Regions from separate parts of the Homo sapiens genome. Here regions 2 and 3 are each linked to region 1. The links are contacts of gene promoters, found by promoter capture Hi-C in human tissues and cell types (Jung and others, 2019). All regions are on one chromosome and are shown on one strand. The core of a region is centred on a gene start or on the middle of the fragment in contact, and the rest is flanking DNA. Distances in the headings are between cores, read along the strand shown. Region 1 overlaps ZNF525 (zinc finger protein 525). Region 2 holds the start of ZNF528 (zinc finger protein 528). Region 3 holds the start of CNOT3 (CCR4-NOT transcription complex subunit 3).

Region 1 (3,868 bases), core at 534-3,033:
GGCACTATTAGTCAATTCTTTTTTTTTTTCTTAGAGACGAAGTCTCACCCTGTCACTCAAGCTGGAGTGCAGTGGTGGGACCTTGGCTCACCACAAACTCTACCTCCTGGGTTCAAACGATTCTCTTGCCTCAGCCTTCTGAGTAGCTGAGATTACAGGCACCCGCCACCACACCCAGCTAATTTTTTTGTATTTTTAGTAGAGTTATGGTTTCACCACGTTGGCCAGGCTATTCTTGAACTCCTGACCTCATGGTCTTCCCACCTCGGCCTCCCAAAGTGCTGGAATTACAGGCATGAGCCACTGCACCCGGCTGTTAGTGAATTCTTATTCATTATAATGCTGCATATTTTTTTGACCTCATACATCAGAAGGTAGTGATCTTAACATGTATTTCAGTTCTTATATTGTGTGCTGGTGGTAAGTAGAAGTTGTGCTTTTTTCTTAACAGGGAATTGTTTAGAATTCTGCAGTTTGTATAAATGTACTTATGATTTGCTTGCTGGTTTTATGCGTTACAGTTATTTTACCAATTCATTTTTATGATTTTACATAAAGCTTTTCGGTATGTGGTATGCAATATAACTGACACAGTTTACTAGTTAATGTCACAAAGTGCCAGCGGGTGCTGTGGCTCACGCCTGCAATCCCAGGACTTTGGGAGGCTGAGGCGGGTGGATCACTTGAGGTCAAAAGTTCAAGGCCAGCCTGGCCAATATGATGTAACCCTATCTCTACTAAAAATACAAAAATTAGCCAAGCATGCTGGCATGTGCCTGTAATCCCATGTACTCAGGAGGCTGAGGCAGGAGAATGGCTTGAACCCAAAAGGTGGAGGTTGCAGTGAGCTGAGATCAGGCCATTGCCCTCCAGCCTGTTGTGACACAGTGAAACATTGTCTCAAAAATACAAAAATAAAAAAAAAATTTTAAATGTTACAATATGCCTTTTCTGCATGGATATAGGTAATTTTATGACAGTTATTCAGAAAAATATTTTTTTTTTTTTGAGATGGAGTCTCACTTTGTCATCCAGGCTGAAGTACAGTGGTGCGATCTCGGCTCACTGCAACCTCTGCCTCTTGGGTTCAAGCAATTCTTGTACCTCACCCTTGCGAGTAGCTGGGAGTACAGACGTGCACCACCATGCCTTGCTAAATTTTGTAAACTTTTCTTATCTTCTCAGTGCTATGATTATTTAACAATACAGAATTTCCATTGATTTTGGTTATCCTTACATGAGCTTGCTGTGGATTATTTACCAGTATATTATATTGTGTGGTCCTTTAGTATTTATTTGTATACAGTAAGTATGCTGTAAATATGAAGAATATATACTTTTCATTGATGTGACAGTGATATGTCTTTTGCAAACTGTTAGACACTTTAGGGTCACAGTGGAAAAATACTCCTTATTTTAGGCTTACACATGTTTGTGCCCTTCAGTGTTTTGTCATGATATTGGAAATAAGCTTTCATAATAATAATTTGAAGCACATGTAATCGCCCTTTATTTATTAAAGAATCTTACGATTTTGTGTTCCTAAACTTTGAAGATCATGTTTGGGAAGTTTAAAATCAGTATTGTCTTTTGTGTACCTATTAGTGTTTATATTTTGTAGGTATCTCTTCCAAATGCACAATGAAGGAGTTCTCATCAACAGCACAAGGCAATACAGAAGTGATCCACACAGGGACATTGCAAAGACATGAACGTCATCACATTGGAGATTTTTCCTTCCAGGAAATTGAGAAAGATATTCATAACTTTGAGTTTCAGTGGCAAGAAGATGAAAGAAATGGCCATGAAGCACCCATGACAAAAATCAAAAAATTGATGGGTAGTACAGAGCAATATGATCACAGGCATGCTGGAAACAAGCCTATTAAATATCAGCTTGGATCAAGCTTTCATTCACATCTGTCTGAACTCCACATATTTCAGCCCAAAGGGAAAATTAATAATCAAGTGGAGAAGTCTATCAACGATGCTTCCTCGGTTTCAACAGCCCAAAGAATTTCTTGTAGGCCCAAAACCCATATATCTAATAACTATGGGGATAATTTTCTGAATTATTCATTACTCACACAAAGACAGGAAGTACGCATGAGAGAAAAATCTTTCCAATGTATTGAGAGTGGCAAAGCCTTTAATTATAGCTCACTCTTAAGGAAACATCAGATTATTCATCTAGGAGAGAAACAATATAAATGTGATGTATGTGACAAGGTCTTTATTCGGAAGCGATACCTTGCACGCCATCGTAGATGTCACACTGGTGAGAAACCTTACAAGTGTAATGAGTGTGGCAAGTCCTTCAGTCAGATGTCATCCCTTACATATCATCATCGACTTCATACTGGAGAGAAACCTTACAAATGTGAAGAATGTGACAAAGCTTTCAGACACAATTCAGCCCTTCAAAGACATAGGAGAATTCATACTGGAGAGAAACCACATAAGTGTAATGAGTGTGGCAAGACCTTTAGTCAGAAGTCATACCTTGCATGCCATCGTAGCATTCATACTGGAAAGAAACCTTACGAATGTGAAGAATGTGACAAAGCTTTCAGTTTCAAATCAAACCTTGAAAGTCATAGGATAACTCATACTGGAGAGAAACCATACAAGTGTAATGATTGTGGCAAGACCTTCAGTCATATGTCAACCCTTACATGCCATCGTAGACTTCATACTGGAGAGAAACCTTACAAGTGTGAAGAATGTGATGAAGCTTTCCGTTTCAAATCAAGTCTTGAAAGACATAGGAGAATTCATAATGGAGAGAAACTGTACAAATGTAATGAGTGTGGCAAGACCTTCAGTCAGGAGTTATCCCTTACCTGCCATTGTAGACTTCATAGTGGAGAGAAACCTTGCAAGTGTGGAGAATGTGACAAGGCTTACAGTTTCAAATAAAATCTTGAAATACGTCAGAAAATTCATACTGGAGAGAAATGTTATAAGTGTAATGATTGTGGCAAGATCTTCAGTCATACGTCATCCATTGTATACCATCATAAATTTCATAGTGGAGAGAAACCTTACAAATGTGAAGAATGTGATGAAGCTTTCAGTTTCAAATCAAACCTTGAAAGACATAGGAGAATTCACACTGGTGAGAAACCTTACAGGTGTAATAGGTGTGGCAAGACCTTCAGTCATACATCATCCCTTACATGCCATCATAGACTTCATACTGGAGAGAAACCTTACAAATGTGAAGAATGTGATGAAACTTTCAGATACAAATCAAATCTTGAAAGACATAGGAGAATTCATAATGGAGAGAAACCGTACAAGTGTAATGAGTGTGGCAAGACCTTCAGTCAGAAGTCATGCCTTACACGCCATCATAGACTTCATACTGGAAATAAATCTTATAAGTGTAATGAGTGTGGCAAGACCTTCAGTAAGGAGTTAACACATGCCATCATAGACGTCATACTGGAGAGAAACCTTAGAAGTGCAATGAGTGTGGCAAAACCTTTCATAGGCAGTCAGCGCTTATTTACCATCAAGCAATCCATGGCAGAGGGAAACTTTACAAATGTAATGATTGTCACCACGTCTTCAGTAATGCTACAACTATTGCAAATCATTGGAGAATCCATAATAAAGAGAGACCTTACAAGTGTGATAAATGTGACAAATTTTTCAGACATCGTTCATACCTTGCAGTTCACGGGCGAACTCATGCTGGAGAGAAACCTTACAAATGTGAAGAATGTGATAAAGCTTTCAGATTCAAATCAAACCTTGAAAGTCATAGGAGAATTCATACTAGAGAGAAACCTTACAAGTGTAATGAGTGTGGTAAGATGTTCAGTCAAAATTCGGCCCTTGTAATTCATAAGGCAATTCATAC
Region 2 (3,868 bases), core at 737-3,236, 980 kb before region 1:
TGGGAACTACAAGTGAGAAGTCAGATGCAACTGGGCCAATTCAACCCCACTTGAATGCTGTCCTGCAGTCTCTCCGCCAATCCAGATATCCCTTTTATTTTTATATTTTTTGAGACGGAGTCTCGCTCTGTCTCCCAGGCTGGAGTGCAGTGGCGCAATCTTGGCTTACTGCACCTCCACCTCCCAGATTCAAGCAATTCTTGTGTCTCAGCCTCTCGAGTAGCTGGGACTACAGGCGTGTGCCACCATGCCTGGCTAATTTTTTTTTTTTTTTTTTTTGTATTTTTAGTAGAGACTTCGTTTCACCATGTTAACCAGGCTGGTCTCTAATTCCCGACCTCAGGTGATCTGCCCTCCTCGGCCTCCCAAAGTATTGGGATTACAGGCGTGAGCCACCACGCCTGGCCCAGATATCCCCTTTAATAAAGCTAGTCCATTTACATGTGCACTGACCTCCCTGGATCTGGAGGTAGAGGCTGGTCTCAGGAGATTGAAGTAATACCTCGACTGGCAGAATCTCAGGGCAACATCATTGAGGTACAGCCAGTTGCATTTCACTAGGCTCAAGAGGATTGCTGCCTCAAGCAGGATAACCAGGCCTGCCTGGAGCAGTGCCGTAGTCCAGGATCCCAGTGACCTAGGTGAGAAGTTGGTACTCAGATCAAAGAAAAGTTCTTCAGGTGACCCCACTGTCTGCAGCCAATGGGCCTGCTTGTGGGCCTTATGTATTTGTGTTTCAAAAATAACCTGAGGGCTTGATGTGGGGGTCCTTATCTCCCATGCAAGGTGATTCATGCCTATAATCCGAGCACTTTGGTAGGAGCAGATGGGAAGACTGCTTGAGGCTAGAAGCTGGAGACCAGCCTGGGCAACAAAACCAGACTACATCTCTATTAAAAACAAAGCAACAAACAGTAGAAAATTAGCACAGTGGAGAGGCACAGGCCTTTACTCACAGCTACTCGGCAGGCTGAGACAGGGGGTCACCTGCCCAGGACCCCAGGAAGTCAAGGTTGCAGTGAGCTATGATTGCGCCACTGCATTTCAGCCTCGGTGGCAGAGACCCTGTCTTAAAATTTTAAAAAGTATTAAAAAACTAAGTTGGACCGGGCGTGGTGGCTACTCTGGAGGCTGGGGCAAGAGAATCACTTGAACCCAGGAGGCGGAGGTTACAGTGAGCTGAGTGCCTGCCACTGTACTCCCGCCTGGGGGACAGAGGGAGACGCTGTCTCAAAACAACAACAACAACAAAAAACTACGTCGTTTATGGCTATTTTTATAAGTTACTGGCTTTTTTTTTTTAAAGAATCGGTGACTTATCTTCACACTGGCCTTAGTCCTCCATGCCCAACACGATGTCCCTAGGAAAGTCTCTGGAATTGAGCACAGGGTTGACCTTCACCGTCTAGAGTGAATGGGGAAGATAAATGAAAAGTATTTATCTTCTATGGGCACTGGCATGAAATAGAACATTCTACCCTGGCAGGGTTTTGCATTTCACATTTTAGCTTGCATCATCCCCTTCACAGACAATTCCAAAGTGTGTTAATTCAATTCCTAAAGCTTCCCTTCCCTTCCTCCCTTCCCTTCCCTCCTTACTTTTCTTTCTTGTCCATTTATTTTCGGTTTTTTTCTCTTTCTTTCTTGGTTTTCTTTCTCTTTTTCAACTTCTCTTTCTTTTCTCTTTCTCTTTACTCTCTCTCTTCTCTCTCTTTCTGCTTCCAGGGTAGGTGGGACTTGAAATTCATTTTAATAGAAGGAATTTTCGTGGATATAATCTACAACCGATTTTGCTCTGCGCAGGTAAGATCCGTTTTCAGACCAAAACCCTGAAAACAAGCGCAGCCAGTCAAGCGAACGGAAGCGCAGGCCCGGCCCAGGCTTTGTCCCGGCCCGCCCTGGTCCCAGCCAGTCCGGCCTCTAGGATGCGCGCGCAATTTCGTGCAAACCCGGAAGCGGACCGCGGGGGGCGAACGCCTAGAGCGCAGTTTCCGGTAGACCCGGAAGCCGATTGCAGGGAGAAACTGTTTTCGCAGCAGTGCGTGAGTTTCCCTTTGTCTATGTTAAGTCTAGGCTAGCCAGTTCTTCTCTGCTTCTATACCCGGGAGCTGAGGGGCATGCAGACCTTGAAATCCCGGCACCGCTCCCTCCACCCCGAGTAAATTCAGACATCCTTTGAGAGTCTGGGAGTCGCTTTCTGCGTGTTAAAATCGCTTGGAGGCTGGTCGTGTGCCCGGTCTTTTTGTCATTTACCCACGTAGACACCTCCTATCGTGGGGTTTACCTGCTTCAAATCCTTTAGTAACCCCTACACACGCCCCGCACCACGTAAAATCCTCACTCTCCGTTCCCCTAGCCTCGCCCTTCTTTGCCCCTAGAGCTCAGCGCCCCAACAGGGCACGAGAGGCCTCGTCCTCTGCCCAGACCTGGTTTCTGCAGACTCCACCCCTCTCCTGACCCACTCCTGCCTTTTTGCTCCTTAATCTGGACCCTCTGTTCCCCAGGCCTCCCTTTTCCAGCCACCGGTTCTCCTGACCCCGAGTGTGGGGGGTGACTTCAGTCTCCTGACATCCAGTGTTCTCTCGAGCCAGTTTCCAGCCCACAGAAAATGAGCTCTTCCGGAAGTGGGCATCTTATTCCAATCCCCTCCCTGTGAATGTGTGGAGAAAAAGAGATGGGAACGAGGCAGAGGAAATAGAGAAATTTTGAAAGAGAAATGAAGAATGAGAGACCCATTAACAGAAGGCAAAGTAGAAGGTGAGTGAGGGGTTTGCAGAGGCACAGTGAAAGAAGGTGCCGAGAAAATAGCAGGGGAGAAAAGTAACTGTAAAAATATAGACAAACCTGGGTCTGTAGAAAGACGAAATTCAACAAGATAGGGAAGGCTTCTCAGACAGAGGGGGGAGAGGAGGAGGGATTTGGAGCCAGGTCAGACAGAGCAGCGTGGTGCTGGGACAGCCAGAGGGGGCAGCTGGTCACAAGGAGAACAGGGAGAACCACAGCAGGGGGAGGCCTGGGATCTAAGGGTGCCAGAGAGTGGGGACAGGGGTGTGTAATATCGAAGATGGAATTTAACAGGGAGACCCCAAGGGGAGCTGAGATGTGGGAGGAAAGAGGCAGAAATATATGGAGATTAGGGACAATGAAAGATTGGGCAGAAAGAGGAATAAGAGGTGAAACAAGTTGTAAAAATGGATCAGAACAGGTGGGAGAGAAGGAATAGAGGGAAGAATGGGACAAAGAGAAGAGGAGGGACTCAAAATGAACAGAATCCTAGGGGAAAATAGAGAAAAAAAGAGCTAGGAAAAAAGATGAGAATGAGAGATATGTACAGAATGAGGCAGGGAAACAGTAGTGAGGAAAGAGGGGGACCCTGGTTACAGATGAGTGGTGAGTTGATTGGAAATTATGATTGAATTGTGACATATTAATTTTTCTATAATATAAAATTTGTTTAGAACACATGAGGCTAGGAGCTGTGGCTCACACGTGTAATCCCAGTACTTTGGGAAGCTGAGGTGAGCGGATCACTTGAGGTCAGGAGTTGAGACCAGCCTGGCCAACATGTGAAACCCATCTCTAGTAAAAATACAAAAATTAGCTGGGCCTGATGGCCTGCGCCTGTAATCCCAGCTACTCTGGAGGCTGAGGCAGGAGAATCGCTTAATCCTGGGAGGCAGAGGTTGCAGTGAGCCGAGATCGTGTCACTGCACTCCAGGTTAGGTGACAGAGCAAGACTCCATCTCAAAAAACAAAAAACAAAAAACCACACATGAAGATGAGAATTGGAACACTATTTATAAGGCACTCTTCTCTTTTCTTGGGATGGACTAGGGTGTGAGTGTATAAGTTAGGAAAAACCAGTGTG
Region 3 (3,868 bases), core at 559-3,058, 760 kb after region 1:
AACAAGTTCCTCAGGTGACTCTGATGTGCAGCCAAGTTGGAAAGTCATCGCTAGATCCGCGGTGTGCAAAGTGAACTGCGGACCGTGGACTGCGGCACTTGTTAGAAAAGCAGAATTTGCATTTTAACACATTCCTAGGTGATTCCGGAGATGTCTGAGAAGCGATACTTTGTCCAGGGGCCACAGTTTGAATAGCAAAGCTCTAGAACAATAACTCTAGGCTTCATTCCCGTTGTCTGTGTGTGGGCCTACGAATATGCATTTTCGCAAGCATTCCTCCTCCCCCTTGCCTCAGACCATTCTGATGCGGGTGGTGCTGAACGGCTCCATCCTCCTTCACGTTCACCTCTCCCTGGGATTTATCTTACTTTCCACCACCTAGACAGGAAGGGGCGAATCTGGCTTCCCATCTCGGTTGTGTGACCCTGGGCAAATGCCTCCCAGTTCGTGGAAGTCTCAGTGTCTAGTTAAGTTTTCAATCACAAGTCATTCCTCACATTCATTCATCTATTCCTTTGACAAATGGTTACTGACTACTTCCTGCGTGCTAAGTGCTGGAGATGCAAAATCCAGACAGGGAAACCGAATAATTACGAAAATGACGGTAGACGTACAAAAATAAATCCTAACGAACAAGGCGCGCAGGAGCGCTCCGCCCGGGAGGGAGGTCAGGGAAGTTTTCTCTCCAAGAAGACAACAGAGCTGAGACCTGAAACGAGCAGGCATTAGGGAGCCACCCGTCTCCTCTGTACCTTCTGCAGCGTCCTCAACACACTAAGGAAGCGGAGACGCAGAGGAGAATGACTGTCCCACCATCTGGTCGCCTAACCAGGCAGGGGCAGGACAAAAACTCCATGCCTCACGCTTCCCAACCAATTCTGCTATGCACGGTGCCAGAGACTTAAAGCAGTGTCTCTGGTCCCTTTCTTCTTTCACTCAGCAAATAATGAATTTCAGAGATGTGCCAACATAGAGGCACTTGGAGAAAGACGAGGCAGCTGAGAGGGAAGCTGCTTACCTGGCCGGGACGCAACGGTTGCGACCAAGTCCCACTTCTGCCAGCTACATACACCCTCTTTCACACGCTCTACGAGCAGCTACCGCCCACTCGCCACGCTATTGGTCCAACTAGCATGAATGATAACTTTTAGGGCCAACGAAGAAAAAGGGGTGGACTTTCTTGCCCAGCTCCTCCCACTTGGCCCTGTGGCTGTTTTGATTGGCAGATGACTTCGGCTCGGCCCCCGCTTTAAAGGCACCTGTCTGTCTCCCATTAGGTACGCGGCCCCTAACGCCCACACTCCATGCCTTCCTCCGCTTTCCCCACCCACTTCCAGGACCAACCAATGACTTCAAGGCAGAATATGCCCCCGCAACCAATTAAAAAGAGCTCTAAACTTGACGGACGACTTCCCGCCCCTGGACTGTCGTAGCTCCTCCCCCAGACCAATTGTTTTAAGAGAGGGGGGCGGATACATCCAATCAGCACGACACAGGTCTCTTGATTGACGTTCGGGTCCTCGCGCTGGCGTGTTGTGCCCTGAGGCGGGAGGAGGAGGAGGAGCGGGGAGGAAAACCTGAGCCAATCCTAGCAGCCTGCGCGGGAGGCCAATCGAACGCCGCGCCTTGGAGCGATCACCCAATCCGCGAAAGGGGGCAGGGCGCATCCCTGCCAGGAACCAATAGAAAGCCTCCAAGGGTCAGGAGCGACGTTCAGCGGGAGCAATGACTGGCCTATATTCGGGACTCGGGGGCGGGTCGGCGCCAGAGACGAGAAGAGAGGAGGGGAGGCCTCCTCCGCCGCCGCCATCTTGGACCGGGCCCGGTCAGCTTCCGCGGAGCCATCGGCAGACGCCGCGGCCTCCCTTGAGCCCCGACCCCCGTCGTCAGAACAACCCCGGGCCCACTCCCCCAACCCCACTTCCGCTTCGCGCCGCTATCGCGATAGCGCCCGGGCCCGGGGCGCGAGAAAAAGGCGGCGGGCGCTCGCCTCCCCCGCCTGTCGCGATACGCTCCTCAGCGGCGGCGCCAGCTCCTGTGGTGAGAGCGTCAGGCTCGACTGGGCCGGACCCCTTCCCTTCCTCCCCCCGGCGCCATCGGCCGCCCTCCCCGCCGCCTCCCGCCCTGGCGACACCGCCGTCTGTCGCGACATGGCCTCCCCTCGCCTGCCCCCTGCCGCCGCCTCTGCAGCGCGGGGCTCCCGGCGGGGGGCGGCTCCCTCCCTCTCGCCCTCCCGTTCCTGCGCCTCTTTCACGTTCCTCAGCGCCTCCCGGGGGTCCTTCCGCGACCCGGACCCCGGGCCCCGCCCGCCGCCGCCTCCCCGCGTGGCATCGCGTCGGGCCCCCCGGTAGGGGTGTGAGGGTGCGAAGCCTCCCGGGCGCGAGGTGCCCGCCCCTCTCCGCGTCGGTATTGGCTCCTGGCTGGAAGGATGGAGGCGCCCCTGGTCCCAGGTGCCCGCCCTCTCGGGGCTCAGGTGCCTGCCCCCCTCGGCCTCGGTCCTTCGCGTTGTGGGGCAGCCTCCGCGCCGGGGCTTCTCCCTCGACGGTGGCGGGGAGGGGGGGTGGTGGTCGGGACGAGGACCCCAGCTGGGTGGGGGAGTCACCCTTCCCAGGACCGAGGCCGCCCTCCGCATCCCTCCTCACTGCTCCCGGGAGCGCAGCCTCCCCTGGATCTCAGGTTCCAGCTGCCCGTCTGTATCGGATGGGAGCCTCTTGGGAGAGGAGTGGAGGAGAAACTCCCCGTTAGTTGGAGCCTTTGCCGAAGTTTCCACCTCTGTAGTCTGCAGCTCTTCCCTCTCATAGCGAGTAGCGCCCTGGGTGGCTCCAGCCTCGCCATCCCGCTGCACTGGGCGCCTGCCTTTTTGGGGGAGTTTGGCTTTCCCCCACCTGGGGTACAGGACCGTCCTCAGTGTGGCCCACGTCTGGTCTCAGCTCTCACACTTCTTTGATCCTGGCGTCTGCCCCTGGCTTTGCAGCCTTGAACTCCCCTGCATCGTGACTCTCCGACCTTCTGGGTGTGGGCGTCTCCCAGTGATATCAGGACCACTGTGGTCTTGTTGCTGGGGGCTGCTGGGATCCCCTGGCGCTCAGGTGCCTGGTGAAAGACACTAAGCCGCCACGCTGTCCATGTTAGTGAGCTCCCACTGCGGGCAGCACCAGCCCCTCTTTCTGAGCAGTCCCTGCCTCTCAGTGCAGGGCGGCCACCCACCCCGGGGTGAGCTCTCCTGTCCTTTTGGTGAGGGGTTTTGATGTCTCCCCTCCCTCCCTTCACCCCTGCCTGAGTATGAGGCTTCTTCCATCTTCACACCAGTCTCCTCCTTTAGGGTGTCAGCTCTCCAAGGACCAAGAAGCCCACTGCCCTTGATATTTGCATCAGATCCCACACTGTGGGTTTGTTGACTTCCCATCTACCCTTACGCTGGGTGTCAGCAGTTGGAGAACAAGGGTTTCGCCTTCTGGCCCCGCTGCTGGTACCCCATGAGAGTAGGAAGCTTCCTAGACCCGGGTTCCTGTACTGCGAGGTGGGGGCTCTTCCCTCTGGGGCTGTGCCTTCTCTCCAGGGTAAGGACCCTTTCTTGGTGTCACCTCCCCCAGGGATAAGGTTCTTGCCATCCTTGGTATTGGTATGGCTGCTTTTCTGGATTTGAGGTGTCCACGCCTCTGCATGTGTCCCCACCGTAAGGCTGAGGACCCCTCTCGGATGCAGGTGCCCCCGGCTAATGCTTCCAAAACCCCCTCTTGATTTGTCACTGTATGGGGTAAGGCATAGTTTCCTGGCTGTGTGGATGTAAGATACCTGAGTCTCAAGCGGGAGACTCCACTGTAGACCCTGTCCCTGGGACCAGAGACTTCTCTGGTGTAGACTTTCC

What was found. The method cuts DNA at HindIII sites, captures the fragments that hold promoters and counts their contacts. A contact is called where the count stands out against the background at its distance.
Region 2: the fragment with the promoter of ZNF528 here is called in contact with a fragment that was not itself captured in region 1 in 3 of the 25 tissues and cell types used here (adrenal gland, dorsolateral prefrontal cortex and thymus).
Region 3: the fragment with the promoter of CNOT3 here is called in contact with a fragment that was not itself captured in region 1 in 4 of the 25 tissues and cell types used here (dorsolateral prefrontal cortex, lymphoblastoid cells, ovary and 1 more).

The regions. Positions count from the first base shown.
Region 1 is chr19:53,379,101-53,382,968 of GRCh38, forward strand. It overlaps ZNF525 (zinc finger protein 525), which reads left to right. Exons shown (of 4, transcript NM_001348156.2): 4 at 1,622-3,868. The coding sequence ends at 2,919. Among named protein-coding and RNA genes, the nearest start is that of ZNF765, 14 kb to the right of the region's middle. The HindIII fragment of the contact is 5,110 bases long and covers 1-3,868 here.
Region 2 is chr19:52,395,863-52,399,730 of GRCh38, forward strand. ZNF528 (zinc finger protein 528) reads left to right here and starts at 1,987. Exons shown (of 7, transcript NM_032423.3): 1 at 1,987-2,042; 2 at 2,505-2,757. ZNF528-AS1 (ZNF528 antisense RNA 1) reads right to left here and starts at 1,895. Exons shown (of 7, transcript NR_125345.1): 1 at 1,600-1,895; 2 at 1,333-1,405; 3 at 748-890; 4 at 503-637. It also overlaps a transcript of ZNF880 not described here. RefSeq lists an enhancer at 1,299-2,498. The HindIII fragment of the contact is 17,909 bases long and covers 1-3,868 here.
Region 3 is chr19:54,135,954-54,139,821 of GRCh38, forward strand. It overlaps CNOT3 (CCR4-NOT transcription complex subunit 3), which reads left to right and starts at 1,809. Exons shown (of 18, transcript NM_014516.4): 1 at 1,809-2,040. The HindIII fragment of the contact is 23,783 bases long and covers 1-3,868 here.